Linked DNA regions of Homo sapiens: region 1 is linked to region 2. The links are contacts of gene promoters, found by promoter capture Hi-C in human tissues and cell types (Jung and others, 2019). All regions are on one chromosome and are shown on one strand. The core of a region is centred on a gene start or on the middle of the fragment in contact, and the rest is flanking DNA. Distances in the headings are between cores, read along the strand shown. Region 1 overlaps CFH (complement factor H). Region 2 holds the start of F13B (coagulation factor XIII B chain).

Region 1 (3,126 bases), core at 24-2,523, 350 kb after region 2:
AGTAGCAATAATATGGAATCAAACTAATTGTCCACCAACAGATGATTGGATAAAGAATATGTGGTATAGATATATGCCATAGAATACTACTCAGCCAAAACAAAAAATAAAAAGAAAAAAAAAGAATAAAATCATGCCTTCAGAAGCAACATGTATAAAACTAAAGGCCATTATTTTAGGTAAAATAATTCAGATTCAGAAAGTAAAATCCCACATATTGTCACTTATAAGTGAGAGCTAAATAATGCGTACATATGGACAGAGAGTGCTGAGTAACAGACATTGGAGACTCAGAAATGTGGCAGGATAGCAGGAGGGTGAGGAATAAGAAATTACCTAATGGGTGCAATGTTCAGTATTTGGGTGATGAATACACTAAAAGTACAGACTTCACCACTATGCAATATATCCATGCAACAAAACTGCATTTGGACCATCTAAACATATAAAACATAGAAATTAAAATTTTAAAAATAAAAGAACACATCATAAAACACCATGGAAATATCTTAAGAAGTTAAATTTATAATAGAACTGGGGAGGATCCCGAGAATAATGATGGTATAATATCTGTCATTGCAGAGTCAATGATAACTTTATTTAACTGAAACTAAACAACCTCAAATGATTTCTGGTCTCATCATGTTTATAATTCTTGATGACTGACATATACATCACAAAAAGGTAAATTCTCATCAAAGATTTATTAGTGAAGATATATGCACTAAGAAATTAATTAAAATTGGTATTTTTGTTTAATGTAATCAAGGAAAAAGAACCCAAAATAGCATTTCTAATATATTTTAAGTTAAAAAAAATATAAAAAACACATAATTAATATATTACAAATAAAGAAAACAAACCAAGATAAATTTTCAAGTTCACATGGAAAGGCAAATTCTAGGTATCCTGAATATTTATGTTAACATATAACAATTTTTGTTATATGTACTATTTATATCAATGTTTAATAAATTTGATAATTATTCTGATTCAGATAAGAAATGTGTAAAATTATCTCTTACATGTTTATAATTTTTAAAAATCAGCAACATTACTAAATATTATCCAAAATATTATTTTTCTTATTCAGAATCCTCCTTTCTTGCTAACTTAGAAAAGTACAAGCTAGAATTCATAAATTAGAATCATACTAAAAAGAAAATTAATTACATCATAACCTCAATTATTAAAATACAATTACAAAATTAGATTTAAAACTATTCTTAAAAGTAATGTCACAAAATAATAACTACAAAAATTTGCTTTTGTGTTTGTTTTAATGAGTTTTGCAGATTATTTGAGAAAATCACACTTGAATGAGAATCACTGGGATTTCTCTCCTAAAAGTCTATACCAATCTTCTACATAGCAATTCTTTTTTTTGTATGTGTGTTTGTTCACGTATTTTGTGCTAATTTTATATAAATTCTGTCTGTTGTAATATTGTGAAAAGCATTATCTTAAAAAGGAAAGTTAAGATCTTGATTATTGGGTATTATTCAAATGCTGTATTTATATAGAGGTAATAACTTACAAAACGTGATTTAGAGAAGAATGTGAATGGACACTCCATGAATTAGAAATATTTTTCTTCATCTAAAACTCAAAACCCTAAGTCCTAGTACTAGATATGTGAAATGTTAATATGAATTTTTAACTCTGAGATACATACTCCTTATTTAGCTTAAGTGCTCCATAATAACAATTCTGTGGAAACCTTTCCACAAAGAAGAGACCTCCTAGGACACTTGAAATATACTCAGATGTCTGTCAATCCACATGCAGTTTTCTGTTACATGGCTGAGAGAAGAATATTTGAAAAGAATACTAAGCTGGTATTTCTTCGTTTAATGTTTGGAGGCCTGTACTATACTAGCAAATTCCTAGTTATGTGTTCAAATGATCCTAAGTCTTTGTACAATTTGCAATAGAAAGACATTTTCTACATCAGCTTCTACTGCTATGTCCGCCACTCCAACTTTCTCTCCTTTAGGTTTTCATTTCATGTCTGGTGATTGGAAAGACTACTGAAGCAATATATTCACAATTTTGTGTTCTTTTTTGAAGAAGACCCCTCAAAATTGTAAAAGCTTCTGGCTTCATAAAACCTAAATTTACCTATCATCACAGAAAAGAAATTTATGAGTCTCTTAAATTAAGCCTCCCCCTCTCAATTAGAGCAAAACTCAACCTCTTTATGATCCATGCCTACTCTTCCAATGTTATCAAATGTCTCTCTCCTCCACTAAATCCAGGATTCAGATTTTATGATCTTTGAATTTTATTAAAAAGGTCAAGTTCTTCGCTGCCTCAGCTGTTGCACATACCCTTCTCACTATAACAAATGGCTTTCAACCATTCTTTGCATCGATGACTTCCTATGTAAAACAGATCTCCAGTTCCTTCCCTCCTATTTTCTATCTCAATTATTGGATTTTCTATTTCTCTGTACACAGTGATACATAAAATATATTTTAAATATTTTTATTACTTGGATATTTGGCTTATCTCTTTTTAGTTTTCCACTGTCTTATATTAGAATAAAATCTCTGGATAAGTAGACCTGTGCTTGTGTTTTCACCATTTTCTCCTGTCCTATGATAGGTGTTTACAACAGCAGGAATGAGTCAAATTTAACTGGACCTTTGACACTGCCTTTCATCTACAATGTACTCATTCTCTTTCTCAGCTGTGACTATTTCAAAACTTTTCTATTCTACCTAGTACTCTTCCTCCTCCTTCGCCCACACACTATTCAATCTCAGATGACCATGTCTCATACTTCAAAACAGAATCCATCAGCTTCTACCATTTTCCAACGTTACTGCTCATTTTCCTTCCCATCTCCTGTCACAAAGTTGTAAGCAGTCCTGTTGCCACCTGTCACAAGGTTGTAAGCAGTCCTGTTGCCACCAAAGCACAATACCTCCACAGTAGCTGTGAGTCCTTTCCCCTCGCATTTTCTCAGGGCAACTATGTAAGTCATGTGTTCAGCCTTTGCAGCTCCCCTTTTGCTGTATCTGCTCTGGTGTCTTCCATCTTTTTTCTTTTAATTATCCCTTCAGTGCACAACTTTCCTCAAGCAATATTCTGATCTTCCTATTAGATTCAAAGCCAGAATCT
Region 2 (2,824 bases), core at 203-2,702:
TGCAGGTTGTCAGGGAAGTGGGGGAAAGCTGGCAGTTACAGACCTCACCCAGCTCTCACACAACCCAACAAGCAAATCTCACTTCTACTGTGTTCCCCCAAAAAGCACCGAATTTGTTTCCAGGCAGTAGGGGAGCAGGATTGAGAACTTGCCCCAGGCTACTAGCCTCCCAGCTGAGAATGCAAGCCAGACTTTTGTGCCTCCCTACCTGTTAAGTCTGCACACCAGATTCACGCCCTTTCCTGAGTTCTGGACAGGAAAGTTTGTGTTCGGTTGGAATTGTTACTAAGTTCAGCTGGAGGTTTCCTTCTCCCTGTGGTCTTTTCCCAGTTCCTCCGGCAGCCCCTGTGAGACAAGTCAGAAATGGCTTCTCTGGGGACCCACAGAGACGATGGGGCTTTACCCTTTGCTTCCTCTACCCCTGTATTTCGCTCAGCTCTCTAAATTGTCTGAGCTCCAGGTAAGGTCAAATCCTTCTCCTGTGATCTAGACCTTCAGGTTCCCCAAGGGTGTGTGTTCAGGGGTGGACAATACCCCTTTCACACTTTTCACAGTTTGGGCATTCACAGTATGTGGGCTATTTTCTGGGTCATGCAGGAGCAATATACTTTCTTCAGAGGGTCTGTGGATTATCTTGGCTTTCCTGTTATATCCTTGCAGCAGTTCTTGGAGCAAAAGTTCACAATGCGAGTCTCCACATCCTGCTCTGTCCATCCAAGTGGGAGCTGCAAGTTAGTCCTGCCTCCTATCCACCATTTTTTCCTATTTTGTATTTTAAATTAAAACTCATTAGAATGTAAACTCCATGAGGGCAATAATTTTAATCCAGTTTTTTCACTGCTAAATACCTCAAAACTGTTACATGTGCTGCCATTATCATGGACGTTCTAAACATTTCTCATGAATGAATGTTGATATAGCACAGTGCTGATCTCACCACCTGCCACAAAGTAAAAACTCTCTAAATGTCAAACACTACTATTATAAGTAATACTATTCTATCATTGAGACAACTATGGTTCTGTATCTCTTTAAGGAGTGCAGTCTAGGCAACAACATATTTCAACATCAGGTATCTGTTATCTCATGTTCCTAAGTTCATCTTTTTACCTGATCAATATTAGTAAAGATCTATGGCCTCAAGTGAACTTTACTCTATGAATTTACAATTGGGAACTTAGGTTGAAAATTTACCTAGTATTATTTATTCTGCTGCTATAATTTATTATTTATTCTGCTGCTATTGTTGCCCTAATCAGTTATCATGCTCTTACTGGACTCTGACATGGTAAGTAATGTCAATTAATATAGTTGTGTTATTTTAACATTATTTCAAAATATTTTAAGTGAAATATAAGACTCGTTACAAAAGGACTTAGACAGAGGTTATAAATTATTAACTTTTTCCTCAAGAGAAGTATTGTGTACTTAATGACAAGTTCCTAGTGCTTAGAATTGTTAAAATCTTTGTGAAGCACACCACTGAAGATGAGGTTGAAAAACCTGACTTTTATCATCATATTGATAATCTCAGGAGAACTCTATGCAGAAGGTAAAATTAATTCTTAATATTCTTTATTCTCTAAAACATACAAATGGAGATTCTAATATTTATACAACTCAAGTTTTAATATACTCTTCTATTTTCATTATCAATTTTATAACATATTTTATAAATATAACTTTTTATAATATTTAGACCTTTTCCTTTGAGCAAAATTAGTAAAGTGTTCTTACAGTAGCATAAGTCAGAAAAGCAAAACAAAACAAAAACCCTTGTATCTCTAGGGGGCATAGGAGACCAGGATCTAAATACTTCGAAAAGGTTTTCAGGTTAACAATATGTCCATTTCGAAGTCACATGTTAACTTTAATTCTAAATTTATGCTAGAATCCATTCCTAATACTGACAAAACTTGTACAATTTTAATTCTGTTCATAAGGTGAGAGTTTAATGTGGGAAATTTGAAAAGGAAATAGCCATAAATATTTTTTACTTTTGAGACTTTGATTTTTATCACAATGAATTATTCATTTGTTGGAGACATTAAGTAGTGATTAGTAGGTGAACCATATAATTGCTTGTACAAACAGGGACACTTAGAGAGTAAAAGAGGGGCTCTATTAATAACTGTTTGGACAACACATGTAAATCAGGACTTTCCAAACAAACCAATACCTATGGACTCCCTATTAGAAAGCTTTATAGTCAGATTGCCCAATGTGTAAGATTAGTGTGCGAGTGGAAGCTAGGCAGTGTACATGGGTATGTTGTTCAGGAACATTATCAATATTATCAGGCCATAGGATGAAGAATCCAGGGAGGACACTTAGCATTAGCAAGAGTGAACATACAAAGAAGGAAGCTACAGCAATACAGCTTTTCTAAAATAAACATTTTTGGGAATTTGTTGAAATTAAATACATAAGTTTTAACTGTGTTTTAGTTGAATAGTTAACTATAAATTTTCTACCAAAACATCTATAATTAAAATTATAAAAGTGAAAGACACAGAATTAATCTTATTTTATACTTTTAATTCTATAATAGGATGATTTTTGCATGAATTTCTTTTGATTTTATTTTTCTGTCTAAATAGGGAAATACCAGCAGATATAATTGTCTGTTATCTATACCATAAAGACATTGCAATATTCTAGTTAATTTTCTAATTATTATAAGGTTATAATGCTATTTTACACAACAAAAAAAAAAGTAAGCTGCTTGAAGACCAAGACAATGATTTTATTTTTGCATGCTTCTCTCAACTCCCATTGTGCACTTCAGGGACAAGAATTGAATTAATTGTGTTTCTCATTTCAT

What was found. Contacts are between HindIII fragments. The study calls those that stand out against the background at their distance.
Region 1: a contact is called between a fragment that was not itself captured here and the fragment with the promoter of F13B in region 2, in 1 of the 25 tissues and cell types used here (thymus).

What each region holds. Positions count from the first base shown.
Region 1 is chr1:196,717,618-196,720,743 of GRCh38, reverse strand. The region is part of intron 11 of CFH (complement factor H); the gene reads right to left. Among named protein-coding and RNA genes, the nearest start is that of CFHR3, 56 kb to the left of the region's middle. The HindIII fragment of the contact is 7,403 bases long and covers 1-3,126 here.
Region 2 is chr1:197,065,888-197,068,711 of GRCh38, reverse strand. It overlaps F13B (coagulation factor XIII B chain), which reads left to right and starts at 1,452. Exons shown (of 12, transcript NM_001994.3): 1 at 1,452-1,552. The coding sequence starts at 1,489. RefSeq lists an enhancer at 1-344. The HindIII fragment of the contact is 20,654 bases long and covers 1-2,824 here.